Linked DNA regions of Homo sapiens: region 1 is linked to region 2. Evidence: promoter capture Hi-C in human tissues and cell types (Jung and others, 2019). All regions are on one chromosome and are shown on one strand. The core of a region is centred on a gene start or on the middle of the fragment in contact, and the rest is flanking DNA. Distances in the headings are between cores, read along the strand shown. Region 1 overlaps PRKAG2 (protein kinase AMP-activated non-catalytic subunit gamma 2). Region 2 holds the start of CRYGN (crystallin gamma N).

The links. Contacts are between HindIII fragments. The study calls those that stand out against the background at their distance.
Region 1: a contact is called between a fragment that was not itself captured here and the fragment with the promoter of CRYGN in region 2, in 2 of the 25 tissues and cell types used here (liver and spleen).

The regions. Positions count from the first base shown.
Region 1 is chr7:151,608,864-151,614,454 of GRCh38, reverse strand. All of the region lies in intron 5 of PRKAG2 (protein kinase AMP-activated non-catalytic subunit gamma 2), which reads left to right. Among named protein-coding and RNA genes, the nearest start is that of RHEB, 92 kb to the right of the region's middle. The HindIII fragment of the contact is 8,202 bases long and covers 1-5,591 here.
Region 2 is chr7:151,438,382-151,444,514 of GRCh38, reverse strand. It overlaps CRYGN (crystallin gamma N), which reads left to right and starts at 4,374. Exons shown (of 4, transcript NM_144727.3): 1 at 4,374-4,618. The coding sequence starts at 4,598. RefSeq lists enhancers at 3,346-3,882, 4,594-5,094, 5,095-5,595, 5,957-6,133. The HindIII fragment of the contact is 10,973 bases long and covers 1-6,133 here.

The sequences.
Region 1 (5,591 bases), core at 1,436-3,935, 170 kb before region 2:
CGCAGCCCTGATTTTTTCAGCCTCCTGTGTGAGCCCCTGTGTGGCTTCTGGTCACCTCCAGGATAAAGTAGTACAGAGCACATGCCAAGCGCCCAACGTAACCGACCCCATGGCCTCCCTGCCACCCTGCTGCTGCTCCCCCATCGCCATGGGGTGCCAGCCCCTGCCCCATGTCCCCTGCGAGCTCCTGAGGATACCCTCAGATCTGAGGGGCTCAGGCCTCTGCCTGGAATCCCTTTTCCTGCCTTCAAGACACAGCTGGAGACAGCGTCACCTCCCCTGACAGGCCGTGTTGGAGTGCTGGCTGGGGCGCTCAGCATAGCCGTGGGAACGGGGCACCTCCTGGTCGGCTCCAGTGAGACCAGAGAGTTGGTCACTGGAGCGGGGGTGTCTGAGTTGGAGGTAAGGTGGATCACCTGAGGTCAGAAGTTCGAGACCAGCCTGACCAACATAGCGAAAGCCTGTCTCTACCAAAAATATGAAACTTAGCCAGGGGTGGTGGTGTGCGCCTGTAATCCCAGCTACTTGGGAGGCTGAGGCAGGAGAATCGCTTGAACCCGGGAGATAGAGGTTGCAGTGAGCCGAGATCGTCCACTGCACTCCAGCCTGGGCAACAGAGCGAGACTCCATCTCAAAAAAAAAAAAAAAATGCTTGGGACTGCTGCCGGGCACAGTGGCTCACACCTGTAAGCACTTTGGGAGGCCAAGCTGGGCAGATCACCTGAGGTCAGGAGTTCAAGACCAGCCTGACCAACGTGGCGAAACCCCATCACTACTAAAAATACAAAAATTAGCCAGGCGTGGTGGTGGGTGCCTGTAATCCCAGCTGCTTGGGAGGCTGAGTCAGGAGAATCACTTGAACCCAGAAGCCAGAGGTTGCAGTGAGCCTAGATCCTACCACTGCACTCCAGCCTGGGTGACAGAACGAGACTCCATCTCAAACATATATAAAATAAAAACCAAAATGCTCGGGACTGGGAATGTTTCAGATTTAGTATTTTTTCAGATTTTTGAGTATTTGCATCATACATACCAGTTGAGCATTCCTAATTCAAAAATCCAAAATCTGAAATGCTCTGATGAGCTTTTCCCTTGAGTGTAGTATGGATGCTCAAAAAAATTTGGATTTTGGAGCATTTCAGATTTCAGGTTTTCAGATTTGGGATGCTCAACCTGTGTATATCACTGTTGTTATTTTTGGAAAACATGTTCATGCCTTTTATTGCTATTACAAATAATAATTTCTGAAAACAAAGTTTAAGTTATTTCAGGCGTTATTGTAGAAGATACTGCGTCAACCCCAACTGTCTTTCTTCCATCTGCCCAGTCTTAGAGTGCCGCAGGTAGCTCCTGTTTGCCCCCAGGTCCCATTTTCACCCTGCCTCACCTGTCTTTCTCACCAGGGAGGCTGAGTGTGGGACACATCGGCTGGGCTCCCGTATTCTGGGGTCCTGTTGAGCTTAGCCAGTGAGGAGCCCCCAGAGGAGGCAGGTGGTTACTCCTGTAGCTCCCTCATCCTGGGAGGCTGCCGCTACCTGGCTGGACTGCTCGAATGAAGGTCGCTGCCCCACCCAAGGGGACTGGCTCTACCTGAAACTCTCTCCTTCCAGGTTTTGTAACTGTTCCTCACCCCAGGTCTAGGGCTGGTAACAGCTTCAGGTTATTGCACTATTTCTTGGGGTTCCCCATGCACCTGTGCCTTTGGGAATGGTCCCATAGACGGTCACTCGCTGAGCATCATCTTAGAAATGGGGCTGTGCACTATGAAGGTGAGCAGGCAGAGGTGGGTACGCTGGTCAGACCCCTGGACTGGTGACAACCGCCAGGCAGTGCACAGAGTTGGAGTGATGGGGGGCAGAACCAGACCATGGCAGCAGCCCCTACGCCTGCTGATGGGACAGAACAGGTGGAAGCAGGGGGTTCCCCAGGTTGCTTCACAGTGAGCAGCAGTGGCAGTGTCTTGCCTAGGCAGGGCTCTGTGCTTGGGGCCTCCAACTCTGTCCCCTACCTGTGTGGGTCAGTAGGGGAGAGGCACACTGCAGGTCTCTGCAGTGTGATTTTAGAGTTGACAAGCCTTATACCTAAAAGCTCTCTAGCAAGGCATAAACCTTCCATTTCACAAGTACAGATAAGGATTAAACTAGGAACACCCTGCAAGAAGGGACTGTGGTAGCTGACGCTCACTCTGCAGTGCACTCAGCGGCTCCCAAACCTGCGGGCAGGTTCAGCAGAGGATGGGCATCCTGGGGAGAGACAGGCTGAGCATGTTACTCAACTCTCCTCTTTCTCTCTGCATGTAAGTCCAAAGTCAAAAGCACTGCATTTAATTCAGCTCCTTTAGTGATGCTGGTGTCGCTGTCCTCCCACAAAAGGGAGCACAGAAAGTGCTGAAGGGAGTAACACATTGGTGCTGACGGAGTCTCACTGTGTCGTCCAGGCTGGAGTGCGGTGACACAATCTCAGCTCACTGCATCCTCCGCCTCCCAGGTTCAAGACATTCTCAAGCCTCAGTCTCTCGAGTAGCTGGGACCACAGGTGTGCACCACCACGTCCAGCTAATTTTTGTATCTTAGCTGAGGTTTCATGTTGGCCTGACTGGTCTCGAACTCCTGACCTCAAGTAATCTGCCCGCCTCGTCCTCCCAAAGTGCTGGGATTACAGGTATGGGCCACCGTGCCCGGCCCGAGACTGCTTTTTTACCATCTTAATGTTGTCTGAGATGATGAGTGTGAGATCTGGACCACCCCACGTAAGTGCGCCAACGTCTTTTCTAAGAAAGCTGTTGTGTTTCCAGCTTTCCCTGCGGTTCCTGCCACTTGTCCTGGTGGGATGGGGTGGGCTCGGCTCTGCTGGATCCACGCCTCACTCATGGATCAGATCATTCCTTTCTCAGTCTGTGCTCACTAACCTGGCCTCCATCTCTTTACCACTTAATTGATATTTCAGTTTCCTCATCACTTACTGATTTATTTCACTTGAATCACCAAGTCCCTAGAAGACTGATGGTTACAAAATTAAGCATGAAGCTGAGGAACGGATCCTGGAACAGGGCGGCCTCTGGCAAGCGCTGCACCGCCCTGGATCTGAGCACCTTTGAAACCGCAGCAAGCATTGCTTAGTAAACGAAGGTGGTTCTGTGGACAAAATCTTCGCATAATGGGTATAGAATACAGAGAGGAAGATGCCGAGGGGTGTAACCATCGATCAGCACTCCGCTGCTCTCTGTGTGTGGGTTCCAGATGGGGAAGTCCTCCTTGGCATTCTGACCCCAGTGTGCTCTGCTCCCACCCTGCACGCATCTCTTCTCTGTTCCTTCTTTTGACTTAAAAGCAGAGAATATAAAAAATGACTTATTTAGAGCTCCCTGTGGCCATTTTCTCAACTTTGAATTGAAAATATTGGCTGGGTGTGGTGGCTCACGCCTGTAATCCCAGCACTTTGGGAGGCCAAGGTGGACGGATCACCTGCGGTCAGAGGTTCAAAACCAGCCTGGCCAACATGGTGAAACCCCATCTCTACCAAAAAAAGTACAAAAATTAGTTAGGCATGGGGGTGGGCGCCTGAAATCCCAGCTACTCAGGAAGCTAAGGCAGGAGAATCACTTAAACCCAGGAGATGGAGGTTGCACCACTCCCAGGAGAAGGCAAAATTGCACCACTGCACTGCAGCCTGGGTGACAGAGCAAGACTCCATCTCAAAAAAAAAAAAAAAAAAAGAAAAGAAAAAATATTTATAATATGCTAACACACTAAGGCTTTGTTTTTTGTTTTTTGTTTTTGAGATGGAGTCTCGCTCTGTCCCCCAGGCTGGAGTGCAGTGGCGCGATATCAGTTCACTGCAACTTCTGCCTCCTGGGTTCAAGCAATTCTCCTGCCTCAGCCTCCAGAGTAGCTGAGACTACAGGTGCGCACCACCACGCCCAGCTAATTTTTGTATTTTCAGTTGACACAGGGTTTCACCATGTTGGTCAGGATGGTCTCAATCTTTTGACCTCGTGATCCGCCTGCCTCGGTCTCCCAAAGTGCTGGGATTACAGCCGTAAGCCACCGCGCCCAGCCCACACTAAAATGTTTGTTTGTTTGTTTTGAAATGAAGACTCGCTCTGTCGCCCAGGCTGGAGTGCAGTGGCGCAATCTCGGCTTGCTGCAAGCTCCGCCTCCCAGGTTGACGCCATTCTCCCGTCTCAGTCTCCCAAGTAGCTGGGACTACAGGCACCCGCCACCATGCCCGGATAATTTTGGTTTTGTATTTTTAGTAGAGACGGGGTTTCACCGTGTTAGCCAGGATGGTCTCGATCTCCTGACCTCGTGTTCCGCCCACCTCGGCCTCCGAAAGTGCTGGGATTACAGATGTGAGCCACACTAAGGTTCTTATAGTCTGGAAAGTAAGCAGCAGTCCCTGTGTATGTTGACATATTAAAATGTGGAGCATGAGATAAAGGTGGTGTTGGCAGCCTCCGGGGTAGAGCCAGCTACACAGGTGATAGGACTAGGTCAGCAAGTTCGTGCTGCTCATGGCAGGAGAGGTGTGTCTGCAGTCAGTCACCCAGATCGTGTGGTGAGGGAGCCCCAAATGGTGGGCACGGAACCGCTAAGCCTGGACTGTTTTCTCAGAAGGTCTTCTTTTCTTCTCACGTTAGAAGCTTCCTTTTCTAGTTGAGGCCAACCCCTTCTGAAATTGGAGTAACCATTCCCAGGAGTGATGGGACAATCCTCCTTCTAGACTAAACAAGAGTTCCAGGACTGGACCAAAAGAAGTGTGGAACTTGAGGGTGGGAAGTGAGTCCTCACGCTCTGCTTCTCGGGGCGTCTATTCCCTCACTGTGTGGGTGTTGCCAGTATCAGTGGGGAGAGAACCTGGGACGGGCAGATTGATGGTAACTGTCTGGTTAGTAGTGGATTATTTTAGCAGTTGTTATTTTTATAAATAGGACACGTTGAAATCCATTTTGAGTCACTATCCTGCTCTTAGTTTGATTAAGGTGTATAAGTAAAATGAATTTCATACTGGTATGTGTCTGTTAAATTATCCTTTAGTATTTTTGCCTGACTAATAAATGATTAGTGATAGTCTGTCTTGTTCATTTTCATAGAATTAAGGCCAAGAAGACCAAAGAATTACACCGTCTTACAACACATTTTTTTTATATAAATTCTTTCTAAATTAAAATTCTGTGTAAATGGGTTTCAGAAAAAGTAATTGATGACTGTAGTGCTTATCTCTGAAACATACTTGTCCAGTTGTTTGCTGTATTTGCAGGTGTTTTTAAAATGTGTATGGTAGAATGAACATTTGAAGGTCTTCTGCAATCTTATTCAATTCAACTGCATTTTTTTGTCTAATAGAATTAGAAAATAGCTTCAATATAAAATATACTTGTAAACATGTTAAAGCTTTATTTAGATCAATGCTGTTTCACTTAAAAAAACAAAAATTGCAGTGGTGTATGCCTATAGTCCCAGCTATGTGGGAGGCTGAGGTGGGAGAATCCCTTGAACCAAGGAGTTTGAGGCCAGGCTGGGCAACATAGTGTGCGACCCCATCTTGAACAAAAAAGAAAGAAAGAAAGAGAAAAAAATCACATGAGGCAC
Region 2 (6,133 bases), core at 3,125-5,624:
GCTTCTGTTTTGGATTCTGTTGTCATCACCTTTTTGGGTTGTCTGTGTGCTCTGGCCCTGCTGTGATGAGGGCAAATACAAATTAAAAAGAAGAAGTTCAGCTGGGCACAGTGGCTCACACCTGTAATCCCAGCACTTTGGGAGGCCAAGGCAGGCGGATCACTTGAGGTCAGGCATTCAAGACCAGCCTGGCCAACGTGGTGAAGCCCCATCTCTACTAAAAATACAAAAATTGGCCAGGCGCGGTGGCTCACGCCTGTAATCCTAGCACTTTGGGAGGCCAAGGCAGGCGGATTGCCTGAGCTCAGGAGTTTGATATCAGCCTGGGCAACATGGTGAAACCCCATCTCTACTAAAATACAAAAAACTAGCCAGGCTTGGCGGCGTGTGCCTGTAGTCCCAGCTACTCGGGAGGCTGAAGCAGGAGAATCGCTTGAACCCAGGAGGTGGATGTTGCAGTGAGTTGAGATCACGCCACTGCACTCCAGCCTGGGCAACAGAACAAGACTCCATCTCCAAAAAAAAAAAAAAAAAAAAAAAAAAATTAGCTGGGCGTGGTGGCACACACCTGTAGTCCCAGCTACTGGGGAGGCTGAGGCAGGAGAATTGCTTGAACCTAGGAGGCAGAGATTGCAGTGAGCTGAGATCGCATCACTGCACTCCTGCCTGGGGGACAGAGCAAGACTCCATCTCAAAAAAAAAAAAAAAAAAAAGCTCTTAAAACAACAATGAGACACCACTGCACACTTATTTGAATGGCTAAAATCCAAAACTTGATAGCACCAAATGGTCAGAATGAAAAATCATATAGCCACTTTGAAAGAGAGTTTGACAGTTTCTTTTTATTTGATTTGATTTTGAATTTTTTAGAGACAGGGTCTTGCTATGTTGTCCAAGCTGGTCTTGAACTCCCGGCCTCAAGTAATCCTCCTGCCTTAGCCTCCTGAGTAGCTGGGATTACAGGTACAAGCCTCTGCACCTGGCTTTTATTTTTTTTTCAGTTTGTTGCACAACTAAACATACCTGTAACATATGATCCAGCAATCCCACTCCTTAGTGTATAGTGAAAGGAGCACACAAAAATCTACACGTGGTTGTTTATAGAAGCTTTCCTCATAATTGCCAAAACTTGGACACAACCAAAATGTCCTTCCATTGATGAATAGATAACTAAACTGTGGTACTTCCAGACAAGGGAACATGATTCAGCAGTAAAAAGAAATGAGAGACTAGGCCAGGAAAAGATATGAGGGAATCTTAAATGCATATTACTAAGTGGAAGAAACCAATCTGAGAAAGCTACTTGCTGTCTTAGTCCGTTTTGTGCCGCTATAACAGAATACCACAGACTGGGTAATTTACAATGAACACAAATGTACTGGCTCACAGTTCTGGAGGCTGAGAAGTCTAACATCACGGTGCTGGCATCTTTCAAGGGCCTTCTTGCTGTATCATCCCATGGGAGAAGGGCAAAGAGAGGGTGAGAGAGAGCAAGCGGTTGACCTTGTAGCCCTTTATGGTCAGCGTTAATCCATGAATGAGGGTGAAGCCCTCATGACCTAAACCCTTCCCATGAGACCGCATCTTTCAACATTGTTGCATTGGGGATTAAGTTTCCAACACATGTGTTTTGGGGGACACGTTCAAACCGTAGTAGCTACATACTGTAAGATTCCAAATACATGACATCCTGAAAAAGGCAAAACCGTGAAGATAGTAAAAAGATCAGTGGTTGCCAGGAGTTAAGGGGGAGAGAGGGATAAACAGATGGAGCCCAGGGGACTTTTTTTTTTATCTTTTTTTTTTTTTTTTTGAGACGGAGTTTAACTCTGTCGTCCAGGCTGGAGTGCAGTGGCGCAATCTTGGCTCACTACAACCTCCACCTTCCAGGTTCAAGCAATTCTCACTGCCTCAGCCTCCTGAGTAGCTAGGATTACAGGCGCCTGCCACCACGCCTGGCTAGTTTTTGTATTTTTAGTAGAGACAGGGTTTCGCCCTGTTGGCCAGGCTGGTCTCAAACTCCTGACCTTAGGTGATCCACCCGCCCCGGCCTCCCAAAGTGCTGGGATTACAGGTGTGAGCCGCCGTGCCCAGCCCACACAGGGGACTTTTAAGGTGGTGAGAATACTCTACCTGGTGCTCTAATGGTGGAACCATGGCATTACACTGTAGAGGCAGCAAAGTTCTACCTCCATCCTCTTAGGGTCCTGGCTGGGCCTGAGAAATAAATTGACCTAAGACAGATTAACAAGAGAAAAGCATACAAACTTATTTAATACAAGTTTTATGTGGCATGGGAGCCCTTATAAGGAGATGAAGACCCAAAGAAAAAGTTAAGAGTCAAACACTTACATACTCAACTGGACAAAGAGTAGCAAGCTGTGAAAAATCAACCACATTATGTGGGGAGGCTTTAAAAATGTGTTATTTTAACAAAGTCTACGCCGCATTCTCTCAACTTCTCATCCTGTATCCCGATGTATAACATAGGTTCATCGGCTGTGACAAATGTACCACTCTAATGGGGGCGCTGATTGTGGAGGAGGCTCTGTGTGTGTGTGTGTGTGTGTGTGTGTGTGTGTGTGTGTGTGTGTAGGGGCAGGGGGTATACAGGAAATTGCTGTACCTTTTGCTGAATTCAACTTGAACCTAAAGCTGCTCTAAAAAATAAAACCTTTTTTTAAGGCTTATTTTTCCCTGTTGAAAATAAGGGAAGAGGCTTCCCTTTCCTCCCTTTTCTTGCAGAATTTCCTTCTCTGTCATTTTCAAATGTGTGTAAATCTTTTTAATGGCTAAACAAGCCTCTTGCCAGTCTAACAACTCAGTCATGTTTCCTCTGGGAGCCTCTTTGAGTCTTGACATCAAGGAGTAAGTGCCCCCACCCTCCCCGTTTCCTAAGAAGCCTGACTTCAGCTGTCACCTGACTCCAAATTGCAAAACCCACCTCCAGTCATAGAGATACAAGAAAATCAGCAATTTTATCCTGAAAACATGAATGCAGTGGGTTGTGTCTGCTTGGCTACAGAAGAGTGAGATCTCTCTCCATCTTTGCGATCTCTTAGGGGAGAGATCGTGATGCAGATCGCATTCCAGTTTAAAGTTTATTCAATAATAAAATTGTTTTTTTTTCCTTCTACCTTCGTGGAGAAGTTTTCTGGGTTGGCTGGAGATTTTGTTTTTAATTTTATGTCCCCACCAGGGCCCAGGTCCAGAGAGAAACATTGGAATGTGTGGCTTGGCAAGTAAGGGCGCCAGTGGAGGCAGCTGGGCGGCGTCCCTAGGGAGGGGCGTCCCTAGGGAGGACCGTCCCTGGGTTCAAGGGTGACATGCAGGTTCTGGTTTGTACCCTGTCTACTTTTGAAAACCTCCCACAGCAGAGGCAAGGTCACCCCTCTGCCCCAAGAATCACATAACCTCCTCTTCCTGGGCCTCAGTGTCTCATCTGTGAAATGGTCATAAAAATATACTGTTTGAAGGAAGAGCAGCCCAAACTCCTCCCCAAAGCTCCTCCCTCCCCTCCAGCAGAAGCCCCTGTGGAGCACCTGCCCCTCTCTCCTTTGATCTCAGAGCCTGTCCCCCACCACCCCAGCCATCTGAGTCATGAGTCCTGTGTTCCCAGCTCATCTCCCCAGCCGTGTGGGGGCTGCACATCCTGTGGGCTCCATGTTCGCTCTGCTCACTCCACAATCTCTGAGCCTCTGCTGTCTGCCAAGTGCTCGTTCTGGGCCCTGGGGAACTCTCCCTCCGCGGTGGGGCTGCTTTGTGCTGTAAACTGATCCTGGGCGTCCAGGGTGGCTTAGTTGGTGCAGCAGAGAGGCAAGGGGCAGAGCACTGTACCCCCAGCTCAGGGCAGCGCGGGTCACCTGGTCACCCTAGGCAGGATCTTCAAGGAGAGAGGGACCCAGGGAGGGAGAGTGCCAGGGAGGGAGGCAGGCAGGAAGAGAGCGGGAGGAGGGAGGCCTGACCTGGCCTGGCGTTTTGTGGGGTGTGGGGGGGTGCATCAGGAGCTGGGTGAGTTGGAGCCGGAGGTCTAAGGTGGGGACCTGGGAGCTCAGACCAGAGCAGCCAGGGGAGGGGCGGTCAAGGGCTGTCTGTCTGTCCGGGGAAGCTTGGGTTGCATCCTCGTGGAGACAAACAAGTTGGCACCAAGGCGAGACTACCTGCAGCCAGGTGAGAAAGGGGAGTGGGCTGGGGAGCTCGGAACAGGCCTTGGGAGGGAGGGAGATGGGCGTGAGGGCTGAGGGGCAGCGCAGGGGAAGAAAGGTTGGAGGGCTAGAGAGACACCTCCCCTCCTCCCCCCACCACTCCAGGGCAGGGCAGGGGCAGCCGCGGGCTGGGCGGGAGGGCTCAGGGAGGAAGGAGGCTCGGGAGCTAAACGCGGAGAGCACAGGGAGACCCCGGGCAGGGCGGGCTGCACTCGCGGTGGCACAGGGTGGCCGCGGCGGGTCCCAACCGCCTGGTGGCCCCTCGGGCTTAGCACGCCCGACAGCACTAACGCTCCGGGGCCGGCCCAGCAAATCTTTTGTCCGGGGCGGCGCTGAGCCAGCAGGGCGCTGCCCGGTGTAAACGGGGACCCGCGGAAGGGGCGGGGCGCACCATGGCGCAGCGCTCGGGGAAGGTGAGTGCGTCCCTCAACCCCAAGGAAACCGAGTGGGGCTCCGCCTTCGCCCCCTGTGCTAGGGGATGCAGGAGGGTGCACACTGTTGATGGTGACAAATCCAAGGGAAGCTGGTTTAATTTCTTAATAAAATGGGGTGGCCTCGCTACTGGCCTGGGGCCTCTCTGGTGTGGATGGATAGGAAGGTCTCCATCTCCACTCCTTCCTTCTGGGATTCCAACCCCTCGCCCTGCAGTCAGGAGCAGGGAGGGTGTTCAGACTCCCTGGGGCTTCCTTGGGGTGGGGGAGGCTTGGCTTGTCCCACAGCCCTCCGCCCCACTGCTGCGGCTTCTTTGCCCAAGGCTGGCCTCTATGGCTTTTCCTTCCCAGGGTCTCTTCAGGGACACTTAGGGCTGGTTCTCTGAAAAATGTTGAGATTTGAGGGAGCCCCGAATCCCTTTGGTGCCCAGACCTCCCTGAAGGTTTCAGGGGCCCTCTACCAGCCGTGCCTGGTGCAGGAAGGACGGGAGACCTGGCTCTCCCTCGCCCTCTCCAGTGCCCCTAGCCTAGCCACTCCCATGAAGCCTTTGGTCTCCAAGGCCACATTCCAGAGTGTCTGGGGGTGACTGTGTTGCTGTATCAGTCTGCATGGGCCAGGTGATGCTTCAGTAACAAAGGGCCCCAGTAACTCTGGGGTGCAGAACGCCAAGGTGTCTGCCTCCTTTCCGGTGAACGCATGTGGCCACGCCTGACTCCAAGGGGCCTGGAAGGGCAATTCTCGTGTTCTTTTGAGCGAACTGGAGACACTGGTGAGGCACAAGCGACCATAGTGATGGGGAACATCACTGCACTCTGGCAGGACCCTTCTAGGGCCACAGTTCTTGAAACCCAAAGAGTTACTAAATGGTTGAGATTTTAGGTTCCACAGCAGGAAATGAGTCTGGCGGGTTGTTATTGCTTCACTTTGTTTTGTTTCGGGACAAGGACAACCTGTGAGTGCCACGTAGCTATAAGACACGATGTCTGAACTCCCAGCAGGGTGATGGAGCTCCAGATCTGATACATGCCTGCTACCCAAAGGAGTGACCTACAAAACACAGAGAGACAGGGTGGCACTTATAAGCCCTCTTTTGCGAACATTAATCCCGAGCCAGGCCCTGACGCGGCTTCGGCCCATTCAGCCTCTCCAGTGAAGGAGGCCCAATCCCAGGAACCCGAATTTCTGCAAAATATATGCTGGGTTACCATGAGAGGGTTGTGGGTGAAATTTCTTCTTTTGAAAACACCTCCTTTAATGTTATTATCGGCTTTATGTTTTAATAATTAAAAAATGAGTTAAAAATGCAGTGGAAGTTGAAAACAGCCCATTTTGAAATGGGCACCTAGACAAAGGGGAAACCCCTGTCCCCAAATCGCTGCTGAAATTTGTCTGCCCCACTGTGAGCTCCTAAGGGTGGGGAGGAACAGTAGCTGTGTATGGCATCAGCCTGCCAGCTGTTCGTTCTTTTGCCCAATTGGCAAATAGTGTTGGGCACC